4 separate regions of the Homo sapiens genome follow, and all the other regions are linked to region 1. The links are contacts of gene promoters, found by promoter capture Hi-C in blood cells and fetal thymus (Javierre and others, 2016). All regions are on one chromosome and are shown on one strand. The core of a region is centred on a gene start or on the middle of the fragment in contact, and the rest is flanking DNA. Distances in the headings are between cores, read along the strand shown.

The links. The method cuts DNA at HindIII sites, captures the fragments that hold promoters and counts their contacts. A CHiCAGO score of 5 or more calls a contact.
Region 2: a contact is called between a fragment that was not itself captured here and the fragment with the promoter of OTP in region 1, in 2 of 17 cell types (total B cells and naive B cells). The highest score is 25.6, in total B cells.
Region 3: a contact is called between a fragment that was not itself captured here and the fragment with the promoter of OTP in region 1, in 3 of 17 cell types (total B cells, naive B cells and total CD4 T cells). The highest score is 29.1, in total B cells.
Region 4: a contact is called between a fragment that was not itself captured here and the fragment with the promoter of OTP in region 1, in 2 of 17 cell types (naive B cells and total B cells). The highest score is 31.4, in naive B cells.

Annotation. Positions count from the first base shown.
Region 1 is chr5:77,637,405-77,640,524 of GRCh38, reverse strand. OTP (orthopedia homeobox) reads left to right here and starts at 1,812. Exons shown (of 3, transcript NM_032109.3): 1 at 1,812-2,012. The coding sequence starts at 1,976. RefSeq lists enhancers at 715-1,269, 1,270-1,826. The HindIII fragment of the contact is 2,017 bases long and covers 791-2,807 here.
Region 2 is chr5:73,453,625-73,456,761 of GRCh38, reverse strand. It overlaps LINC01386 (long intergenic non-protein coding RNA 1386), which reads left to right. Exons shown (of 5, transcript NR_126410.1): 5 at 2,443-2,572. Among named protein-coding and RNA genes, the nearest start is that of FOXD1, 6.4 kb to the right of the region's middle. The HindIII fragment of the contact is 1,057 bases long and covers 1,035-2,091 here.
Region 3 is chr5:73,435,319-73,438,422 of GRCh38, reverse strand. No RefSeq gene overlaps it. Among named protein-coding and RNA genes, the nearest start is that of FOXD1, 12 kb to the left of the region's middle. RefSeq lists an enhancer at 1,898-2,801. The HindIII fragment of the contact is 4,913 bases long and covers 1-3,104 here.
Region 4 is chr5:73,418,929-73,421,680 of GRCh38, reverse strand. No RefSeq gene overlaps it. Among named protein-coding and RNA genes, the nearest start is that of FOXD1, 28 kb to the left of the region's middle. The HindIII fragment of the contact is 199 bases long and covers 1,231-1,429 here.

The DNA of each region.
Region 1 (3,120 bases), core at 563-3,062:
ATAGGCCGCGTTGGTAGCAGCTGCAGCAGCCGCTGAAACCCAGTCCGGCCCGGAGCTTCCCGGGAAGCGGTCTCCGCAGCTCAGAAGAAACTGGTGTGGCCAATACCCTGCATTCACACGTGTGTGCATATGTGTGCGCGCGCACGTGTGTGTGCAGGAGAGGAGGCGAACGGGCTGCAGGAGGGAAGGAGGAAACAAAACTGCCCGAGAGTTCGCTTTGCCGCCTCCTTTGTCTCCTTGCTCGGTCCCTGTCACACATACAGCTGAGGACACACACACACACACACACACACACACACACACACACAATTCCTCTCGCATCTGCTCTCAGCCAGCATTTTCAATGTTTTGTCTAAGTCAATTGGACGGCGAACAAAAAAAGCCATTTGCTCAGTATTATTTAAAACAGACTTCATTGGGCCACCCTTTTGTGGAAGGTTTATTTGCACTAAATGAATAATCTTAATTGCATCACTCTCGAATTAAAAATCAATGTTAATCAAGTTGGGAGTAGTAAATATCAGTTTTCATTGTGACTGGGTAGAGGGCATTTTTCTTGTGTTGCAAATAAAAATACAAGTCAAATAACTTTAAAAGGGCATTATGTTCTGCTACAAATACAATTGAAACGGATTGTTTAGGAGCAGATCAGAAATGGTACAGAATTTTGCACTTAATTTCCTCAGTTATCATTTACAATAAGAACCTCTAGGCTTGACAGCCAAGTCTAAACAGTAGTAAATTAGTACAAATTTATACTGATTTTACTCTAATAATCGTAATAAAAGCTTATAGATTTGGCACTAATTACATAAATGCCTAATGATCTTGAAAATTACTCTGGTTAGAAATATATTACTAATCTAAACTTTGTTGTTGGCTGGCTCTGAAAAATCAGAACATTAGAAATGGTTCGCTTCACTTGTGCAAAGCACTTTAAATTGTTCAAGTAGTTTAACATATTCAAGAGGAAAATAAAGAGCATTTAACTTTATTTACAGCCTTAAGTGGAGTTGGGAGCCGAGCTGAACTTAGAAACTTTGACCAAAAGAGCGAGTTAGGGGCGAGGATGCGGGCGTGGGCCAAGCGGAAGAGCAGGAGCCGGGAAGAAGCCCGGTGAGAAGAGTGCAGAGCGCTCGAACCCACACTCCGCGAGGGTCCCCAAAGCAGACAGCGGGCGCTGGCGGTGCCAGGGAAGCCGACTCCTCTTTGCGCTCTAGGCCCACTGTGGGGTTGGGGCTCGTATAGACCCCAGGGCACAGCCAGGGCGCCTGGACCCTAGGCGCAGGCCTACTGAGCCGCGGCGAAGTCCAGGCGTTGTCTGAAGGCCGCGGTGTGCCCTCGTCGCGCCCTGGGCTGGCGGGCCAATATGAGCGGCAGGCCCAGAGAGCGCAGGTGGGGGCGACCCTCAGGTCACGCCAGGGTCATGGCCCGCTCTGACCCCTGCTCTGCCCCTGCCCTAGGAAGATGTTAGCTCAGAGGCACAGAGCTACGCCTTCGAAGCGCGCAGCGCCGGCCAAGGGGAAGGAAAGGGGAGCCTGGAGAAAATCGCAGGGAAGAACTAGAGGGAGCCGGGCCCAGAAGCTCAGGGCGAGGCCGAGGCGGCTGAGGCTGCTTTAGCTCCTGCTCCGGGCTGGAGCTGCCAGGGCTGCCGCCGCCGCCTCCTTCAGGCGGGCGCAGGCGAGCGGGCGGGCGGAGTGGGGGACTCTCCGGGCGCTGACATTTGCAGGCTGCCCTCCTGATTGGTCCCCTCGCCGAGCTGCTCACGGGTTCATTCAACTGTTAAGCACCTCCCCGTCTCTCTAAAGGACATTATAATGCAAGAAGCCCCCTTTTTAACCACAAACCGAATTTTCTTTCATTTAGGTGATCTATATATATCTATATCGTATAGCTTATAGCTTATATCTATTTTAAATAACTTAAAGCCGCTAAAATTTGGGGGGGAACAGCTTTCGCCCTGGAGCGGTGCGCGATGCTGTCTCATGCCGACCTCCTGGACGCCAGGCTAGGTGAGTGCGCGCCTCTCGCCCGGGCAGCCAGGAGAAGCCGGGGCAGGAAATTGTCAATTTGTTCCTTATTTTACCTTAATGCGACCTAAATGGACTAATTTCTTTAAAAGTAATTGTGCTGCATTAAAGTTTAATTTGATTTAACATCGCCTTTAAAAAAAAATCTATGGAATATGTAGATCCAAGAAAGGAGTTGGGGAATGTTGTTACTTTTTGTTTTTCTTATTTTTCTCTTCCCCCCTCCCCCGCCTTTTTTTTTTTTTCGAAAGGCGATATACCCCGTGATAATTTGTTAGGAGGTGTTTCTCTCTCTTTTTTCCCTCTCCTGTTTGTTTTGATTTGGGATTTCTTTCTCCTTCCCTCCCCCCGTTTCTCTCTCCCCACCATCTTCTTCTCTCCTCCTTTTCTAAGTGTGGTGTAATTTGTAAAAAATCTGGCATAAAGGAGAAGCTGCTGCCATCAAGGCGGATTTGCTAAGTGTGCTGGTTGAGAAGGAGAGAAGCCAAATTCAACCTCACAGTCATCCCCCCCTCTTCTGCAAGGGACTCAGCGTTGCCAATGGCTGTGAGGAATGCGCCTTTTATTTCTCTGGAAAGAAAAGTTGAAATCTCTAAAGTTTGATTCACGGTTGTCCATAGAGTTCACTCGAGTTTCCTTAATGCTATCTGGGTTGCTGAGCTCTGGGTTTCCGGATTGGGAATCTTCGGTGATGGATGTGACTCCATTTTCCAAACACTTTCTCTGATTTGAGGGGGAGGCGGAGCTGATTTGGGTTGATTTCGGGGGGTGAAAGCTTGGAGGCTTATTCATCTTCCGAAAGTAAGAGGGAATCGGCTGAGGGCCGGAGGTACAGTTCGTCAGGCTGCCGAAGCGCAGGTGCCGCAGCAACCGAGGAATTGTTTAATTTTCTTTCTGCCCCCCGCACCCCTGTGTCCAAAGATTTGCTCTCGATTTCCTGGGGCGCCTGGGGTACGGTTTATGGAAGGGATTCAGAGGCATGTTTTATTGCCGGGACTGGGAGTGTTTTATTGTGGGAGAGACGAAAGCTTGTGCTGTTTACTACGGGAGCCGGCTGCGGCGAGGGCAAGGGGCCGGGAGATATTATTCC
Region 2 (3,137 bases), core at 314-2,813, 4.2 Mb after region 1:
ACCTAGGTGCCCATCAATGGTGGACTGGATAAAGAAAATGTGGTGCATATACACCATGGAATACTACACAGCCATGAACAAGAATGAAATCATGTCCTTTGCAGCAATATGGATGCAGCTGGAGGCCATTATCTTAAATGAATTAATGCAGAAACAGAAAACCAAATACCACATGTTCTGACTTATAAATGGGAGCTCAACATGGGGTACACATAGACACAAAGATGGGAACAATAGACACACTGGGGACTCCAAAATTAGGGAAGAGGGCAAGGGTTGAAAAACCGCATATTAGGTACTATTTTCACTATTTGGGTGATGGGTTCAATAGAAGCACAAACCTCAGTATCATGCAATATACTCATGTAACGACCCTGCACATGTACCTCCTGGATCTAAAATAAATAAAATGAAAGAGGAGCTTTCAAACTTTTTTATTGTAACCCACACTAAGAAATTATTTTACTCATTTTTAATTATTATTTTTTGTACAGATGGGGTCTTCTTATGTTGCCCAAGCTGGTCTCGAACTTCTGGGCTCAAGGAAACCAAGAGATCATTTTACATAGAAACTCAGTATACATACACACGCACAAAAGTATAAAAATAAAAATAACTGAAATAAAGTTTTCACAAACTATTCTTAGCATTATTATGTGCTGTGCAGTGATGTTTTCTATCCTAACCCATCCCATTCTGTTCTGTTCTATTCTCTTTCAGTTGTGGTCAAAATGCACTAAATTGATTTCATGAGCCAGAATTTTGTCTTTTCCTGCTGCTTTTGGAAGAGCTCCTCAAACTCTTCAAACCCAGTCCATTCTTCAGTTGTATCTATTCTGCTTCATATTTGTTTTTTAAAAATTAAATTGTTGTGGCTCCAGATGAGGGTTTTTTTTTAACAAAAAGAAATTTAAAAAATTGTCGTGGGTACATAGTAGGTGTATATATTTATGGGGTACCTGAGATGTTTTGATATATGCAGGCAATGCATAATAATCCCATTATGGGGAATAAGGTATCCATCCCTTCAAGCTTTTATCTTTTGTGTTACTAACAATTCAACTATGCTCTTCTAGTTATTTTAAAAATGTACAATTAATTATTATTGACAACAGTCACACTGTTGTGCTACATTCTGCTATGTATTCCATCTATTTGCCCTTTATTTTATTACTTTCTTCATACTTAATGTTTCCACTAGGTTTAAAACAATTATTTCTTTCTTTTGCTTAATGTTACTAATAAGTCCCCTCCCTCTTTGATATATGTATTATGCTTGCTTTAAATTCTTGATGTCTATTCCTATAATCATGCTTCAAATGATATGAACTGTTCCATCTGTAGTCTTTCTTTTACACTAATTGTGCTCCTCAGCTGTCTCAACTCAGCACTTTGGAAATTGCTCAGGCTGAAAAATTTGGAAAACATAGAAAAATATAATATAAATAACAAAATGAAAACCACCCATAATTTCACCCAGAGTTAACCAATTGACATTTTATTGTATTTTCTTCCAGTCTTTTGCATGTTTAGTACATTGAATTATTGAGAAAATACTGTATGTAATTTTCTATCTGAACCTTTCTCTTAACTTTAAGATTTTCTCAAGTTATTAAAACTGTTCACGGACCTCGCTTTAGTGATTGCAAAATATTCCATCATGAGAATAATATATTTAATCCCGAGCATTTAGAATGTTTCTATTTTTTTTTTTTTGCTTCTTAAAAAAAAACTGCCGCAAACATTTTGAACATAAATATTTGCTCATATTTCTGGTTATTTCCATAAAATAGAATCTTAGAATGAAAGGATTCAAGGGAACGGACACTAAGATACAAGCTCTGTTTTGCCAAATTGTTTGCTGAAAGGTTTGTACAATTTTATAGTTCCACAGGCAGTGTGTAATTGAATTCCTACCATCATGTTCATCATCCTCATGTAGTTTGCTAATCTGATAGAGTTTTCTCTTTCCTATTTTGCATGTCTCTGAAGAGTAGGGAATCATTCATTATTTGTATTTACTTTTATGTAAATTTTGGGTTCAGGCCCTTCCCAGTTTTTTCTGCTCTGGAAGGCTAGCCGACCAAAGCTTTCTAGCAAAGGTGCTCACACGTGCCTCTAGTGGAAGGTTTTGAGAATGCCTTCTTGCAAAGGGGTGTATGTACCTGACTGCAACCTATGACTTGCAGCCTGGTGTCAGATGGTGGTATCAGGTGAAGTGCCACACTGAGTGTAGACAATGAGGTTTCAGTGTGTTTGCATATGCGTAACAGACAGGTGATAGTTCAGTCTCAGTTTAAGCCTGGAAATCAGGCAATAGTGTGTGTGTGCGGGTGTGAGACAGAAAAGGTTGGTCACCAAATACCTTTTAAATACACACACAAAATTACAACTTATGACAAGACTTTCTCATGACCTCATAAACATACTTTTCATTTTCAGTGTGACTTGTAGACAGCTGCATCCCTAGAGTTACTTTAGAGAGCCCTGTCGTTCCCAAGCAGAGAGATTTGTCTGCACAGCCAGCCTCTGGGTGAAGTACAAATGCAAAATAAATAAATGCCTTCTTCTAGAACAGCAATATTATTTTTCAATTCTTCTTATAACTAAAAATACTAAGTCTATTTCCAGGAAATTATTAGACAATGTGAACAAATACCAGAAGTTTATAGAGCTGCAAAGATGTACTCAGGAGAGTCTGGTGTTGAAGTTAGCCCCCAACAAGAGGAGTCCTCTCTGGAATGGAAATATGTGTATTTTTCAGTTAAATTCATGATAAAAAATACTTTTTGAGCTTTGGGGTACAAAATCTAAACATGTGCCACTACAAACCACTTAGATGCGGAGCTAAGTAAGTCTGTGTGTGGGTGTGTGTTAGGATGGGAGGACCAGTCCAGGTTAACAATGTAAGGAAAATTTCTGAGTCCATGTAAATAATTTTGGTGTTATGAAACACAGATTTGGACTTTTGCTGACATTCTGAATTCTTGAGGATTTCTGAGCCCTGCTCAGGCCATGAAATGCTTGTTTAAGGAATTGTCGTGCAAGCACAAGCTGCCTAGTGGGACCTAGAGGCCACTAAAATATCTTCTTCACAAAGGAATCTCATCTCCCAACCACACCCTCTATAAAAGACC
Region 3 (3,104 bases), core at 333-2,832, 4.2 Mb after region 1:
TTGGGTCTTGGCGTTTTTTGTTTTTTTTTTTTTTGTCTCCAGAAGTAACTGGGAGTACAGAGGAGAAAAATAAAATGTTGAGGCATTCTGTGCTCTGTTTTTCTATTTAAGGAATTTACTATTTCTTTGCCTTCCTCCCCCCTTCCTGGCCTCCCTCCCTATCTGCATAGATAGCAGGACTCCAGCAAACTATATCCCACAGGTCTTTAGAGTTATGTAGGATAGGATCCCTTATTTTAGGGAGTTGGTGGGCGCGGGTTGTTACTGTAACTCTATTCTGTAACTAAAGCTCTGGCATGTAATAAATCTCTCCCCAAAGACTTTTGGATCTTTGATTTGAAAAATCGGATTCCTTTTGTGGAAACAGTTGACAGGAACCTAAAAGGATTAGTTGCATTCCACATAGGATAATTTTTACTGGCAACATTTTGAAACGATTTGGTCCCTTTCAGACCTTAAACAATGTCCAGAAAAATGATCTAACGAGACTTTTATTGTTTTCCTTTGTGTGTGAATCCGCTTGCGCCAACATCTCGATGGGGTTTTGACGGTTTTGCTCCTGAGCAGGGCACTGAATTAATTTCTGATCGCCGTTTCGACTCGGTTAGTTACCTCCTTCGGCCAGGGGCCTGGCGGTGTTTTCCAGGCGTCAGCCCTTGAAATGGCAACAGGAGCGGGAGGCTCGGCCTCTCGGTGGCGCTGTGTCCGGGAGGGACGCGGGGGCCGCTGCCCGCTCGCCCGGGGCCCCGGCAGCTCCGGCGCCTGACGTCGTAGGGGCCGACGAGGCAGCGCGCACGCCCCAAACTGCCATCGTCAAACGCTCCCGGGGCCCTCCATCCACGGGAATGAGACGCGGAAAGGGAGATAATTCGGCTTCTCTCTCTCCTCCAACCGCCCCCCTCCTAAAGCCCCAAGCACAAAGCCGAGAGCGGCCCGCCTTCCCCTCGCAGAAGGCCGCCGAGCTGCTGCGAACCAGCCGCGGGCCACGGCGCCCCCCGCCCTCCAGCCTTCTCCACTGTTTATTTTGTTGTCAGCGGACTTATCAAGATGTTAGTTTGCTGGAGGTTCTGACCTGCCCGGGCGCTTTGGCTGCTCGGCCCGGGCTTTCCCCTCTGTTTTTACACCTGCATAAACTCCACCGCACTCCCCTGTCTGATTTATAGCCCAATTAAAGGTTCAGTGTTCTCCAAGCCACCCGGGCTGCTCCCTTCCCCGCCTCCCGCCGGCTGTGGCGAGCGCAGGAATGCGCGAGGCCGCGCCTAAGGCCGGGCCGCGGCCGAGGCGGTTCTGCGCCCAGCGACCCTCAGGAGCGGCGGCGCGAATGAACGGCCTGCGCCCGGAGAAGGGCAGAGAAACCTCGGGCACATCACCCAACAGCCGCGAGCAGAAAGGCCGCGTCCCCAGCCCAGAGTGATTTCCTTCCTGGGGTTTCGGCCTGAGTGGGACGAGGCGCTCCCCCGACAGCATGCGAGGCCGGGACGGGAGGGCGCTGGGAGCTGCCACGTGGCGCAGCCCGACGCGGAGGCCAGGGGTCCGGCCGCTACGCCGCGCCTCCCCACGATTTTCCGGGTGAGGAAGGGGCGGCCGCGGGGCCCGGCGGGGCGGAGAGGCTCCGGGCTGGGGCGGGAGGCCGTGCCCGCTCCACCGCGGCCCTACCTTCCCGCCCGCCTCGCTCGGCGAAGGCCGGAGACCGCGGCCTGGAGACGCTCCCCGGGGTAGCGGGTGCTTCCAGCTGCCGGGCTCCGGCTGTGGGCGGGAGGCGCGGGGGGTCAAAGACCGCCCAGCCTGCGATCCGGCCAGAGCCCAGCCCCAGCGCGGGCTTCGGCTCCAACTTCCTTCTTTGCGGCCTTTTCTTTACGCAGAGAATAAGCGGCAACCCAGCCGAGATTGGCAGCATTGAGCATCTTCCTAACCCAACTCTGTCTTCTTTCCATCTATCAATCCACCTTTCTAATTAGACTAATTAGGAGCGCTCTGGAGTGTCGCTAGGCCCGGGGACTGAACCGCTTAGGGGTTGTGAAAAGACGCCTGAATGGCCTCGCTGGGGGCCGGGCGGGGGCCTTTGCGACCCATTCAGCACAGAGTAACAGTGGCTACATTTATCCCTGGCCATTGAAAAGAGGCTCGATTAAAACGTTTGGGAACTAATGCCACCCTGCATCCCCTCTCTAATTAGAGGAGCCCAGGGCGAAGGCGAGAGCGCCCGGGACCCCGCAGACACTAGTTCTGTGCGCTACTGCTTTCCGCCCTTTCAGCACAGCCGATTTCCTTCCCCGAGACAAAAGTCCGCCACCTCCCCACCTGTTGCCCGGTCCTTGCTTTCCCACCCATCCCGAGCCCCTTCGCCCTCATCCCAAGCTGAAGGCCCCGCCAACTGCGTTACAACGCACAGCCCAGACGTTGGGGTCAGCGGAGTGGAAAAAAGGCGCCTAGTTCCCTCCTTCTGTCTTGGAAAGCATCCTTTTGCATTCGGTAGGCTACACATTTTCCTCTCCATCTGTCTTCCGTATTTCTCACATACTTACCAGCTCCTCCCTCTCCTCGTCCTCACTTTTAGCAACATGGAATTTCCAAGTAAGCATTTGGGAATGAGAGGAAAGTGGGTCGGGTGCCATCCTGAAGTCACTATCTTGGCCAAACATTATGCTGTAGGAGTTCCTCGCTTGCGTAAATAATGTGTATTTTTTGTTACCAGTTTTTTTTAAAAGAAATGTGTGTGGAGCACCTACTGTGTGACTAGACAGACAGATTCTTACTATACTCCTCAGTCTTCTTCCTTCCCTCTTAAGTCCATCTCCAAATCTGTCTTAAGAAGTTAAACCTGACTTGGTTCAATTCCTTAGGCAAGCTGTTGATTCTGTCCCCATAGTTTATATGTAGATGTATTTTTTCTTTGTCTTTTTCATGGCTCATTAGAAAGAACTGCAGACACAGGATAACAGGGAAGCAAAAGAGAAATAGTAGACATATTGCAACTACAGATTTTGTGTGGGGAGGGCGTTGTTTGTTCCTTTTGTTGATGAGAAGTTATCTAATATTTTTACAAAAATTTGAAGCAAACTTTGCCCTAAAATAAAGGTGACCAAAAGGGGTTTGATTTCCTC
Region 4 (2,752 bases), core at 81-2,580, 4.2 Mb after region 1:
TGGGCCCAAATCAGACAGGTGGACACTGTATTAAGTCATTTAGATCAAGACACTTCATGAGCAATATAAACCAAGCAAGTGAAGAAGTGTAAGAGAAAAAGATTGTTTTAATTCCCCAAATCTCTTCAGTTGTGGCTCCCCAGACTGAACAAAAAAAAACCTCTAATATAGAAACCAGGGAGAAGTTGGCACATGGTTCCAAACAGTTCATTTTACTTTCTATTTCCTAGTACTACGCTTGCTTTTGAAAGTCTTCAGATTGCATTGCCAACTGATACTTAGCTCAAGATCTCTATGGCTCTTCAGATATTTCTCTTCTGTGTACATTTGAATGAGTTCTGTCTCATCTTGCACTTGGGAAGTCTTTTCATAAGGTAAATTTACTCTCTGCTTGCTCTGATTCAACTTCCTATTTTCTTTCTTTTTTTTTTTTTGAGATGAAGTCTAGCTCTGTTGCCCAGACTGGAGTGCGGTGGTGCGATCTCGGCTCACTGCAACCTCTGCCTCATGGGTTCAAGTGATTCTCCAGCCTCTGCCTCCTGGGTAGCTGGGATTACAGGCGCTCACCACCATGCCCGGCTAATTTTTGTATTTTTAGTAGAGAAGGGGTTTTGCCATGTTGGCCAGGCTGCTCTCGAACTCCTGATCGCAGGTGATCTGCCCTCCTCAGCCTCCCAAAGTGCTGGGATTACAGGAGTGAGCCAACAATCTCTTCTTTTCAATATTTGCTCATTTACACTTTCTGCAGACACTTCTTACCAGCAATACCCTGCATACTGTCTTCCAGAACAACCCCTACCCAACTTCCCTTTTCTTAAGAGTCATTGAGAAGTACTCTTTATGAGGCACTTTCTAAGGACTGCTGAATTGTTAGAGGTTAGCAATAACGAGTTCCTGCCACAGCAGTCCATTTCTTAATGACTATTATTGCCAGTTCAGATATGTTTTATCTAGTTCTCAGTCAGTAACATTGAAAAAATTAAGGTCCAGTATTTTTCAGGTTATCTTTATAGTTCAAGTAGTATAAGCTCCCACTTGTCCGTTTTCAAACTTGATTCGACTTCATCTTCCATAGCTTTTCCTAGAGAGTGGCCAGTGGCTTTGCAATGACTTGACGTAGTTGTTTAATCACCTTCAGACCAGACTCAACATCTTTACTACGGTAAAGTTAAAAGTGGGTCTTTCTTGGGTGGATATTGGGAGGAAGAAAGACAAGAGAGAGAAAAAGCTTAGCACGATGAAGCGATGTGTTGAGGTAGGTGTTTTGGACTCATCCAGTTTTGTTGTTTGTGCTTACACTGGAACCTCTGAGCTTTGGCTTTCCTTTCTCAGGTCAGGGACGTTTCCCGCTATTTTCTCTTTTGTTGGCTTGGGCAGGAAAGAGCGTGCGTTCCTCTTTTCATTCAGCCCAAACATAAAACACGAAGCTTCCCGTGCTTTAGGGGACATGTGGTTGTGTTCTAAGAGCCATCTGCAGAAGGACGGTTTTGGGAAAGCTGCTTCCCCAGAACGGAGAAACGTCTCCGGAGCGAGCGATCTCCGGCCCGCAGATTCAATAAGCCCCAACCACACTTGGCTCCGTCACAAACCTAATACGGCAGCCCATATTGTTGCTCGGGAAGTCTCCAGCCAAACCGAGTTCTTGTAAAAATAAATACTCATCAGCAAATATTTTGATTAGTTAAAAATGTTCGAGATGGCTAACCCCTCGCTCCCCTCCTTTCACGGTGCGAACGCGAAGAGGCTCGGCTCCGGGGGGCGGGAGAGCAGTACTGCGCCCCCCGCTTCGGTGTGCGCCAGGCCTGCGGACGCCCGGGAGGCTCGGCGCGGCGGGGCTCGCTCGGCCTCGAGGGCGCGCGGTTCCGAGGGCCTGGGAACGCGAGCGCAGGCAGCCGGGCCTCGCCCTCCCCCGGGCCGCCCGCAAGAAGCCGCTCGCAGCCTCCATACACTTACTTGCCTGCCTTAAGCTCTTTATTAACTCCCCCAGAGGAGCGCCGGCTGCGGCCGCGCCTCCTGCGCCCCGGTGGTCTGGCTCCTCCGCGCGGCGCACATGCTAAACAGATTAACATGCCTTGGCTGACCCACGCTTCGCAACCCGCGGATAGGGTTTCTGCAGCTCCATGTGGAAATTAACCTATCTGTACCCGTGGTCAGCTGCGCCCGGCCGCTCCCGCGCCGGCCCGGCAATCCAAACAAACCAGGCCGCTGGCTCCCTTTGTTACTCTTGGCGCCCCCTCCCCACTACCCGGCCAAATATTTATTGGAAAAGAGGTTCTCTTCTTTGGCCGAAGGTAGGGCACATTTCTGAGAGCTCTTTATTTGTAAATGATTTTTGTCAGGGCCAGCCAGGCACCCTTAGGAGGGGGTGGCAGGGAGCTGAAACTCAGGACTGGAAGGTTTCTAGCCCTCCGCTGGCAGGGAGCTGTTTATGTTTGCACAGGGCACCCGAGTCCTGGTCATTAAAAATGTATGCACTGCCCACATTTTGCTTTTGTAACAGCCCCTCTGTTTAATGTAGTTGTTTGCTTTGTTCTAGGGCAAGTTTATTCCCTCTCCCCGACCCTCAATCTCTGCCTCCCATTCACACCCGGTAAACAAAATGAGGGGACTCTTCTAGGTTTTCTTACTTAGAGGATCAGAAAAGGTAAGCTCAGAGGCTGGTGGGTACCAGCCCGAGGCCAAGTGCTAATCGCAACAGCATCTGCCTTTCAACCGCTGCCTCTTCCAGCAATTCAGGATTGCTAATGAATTT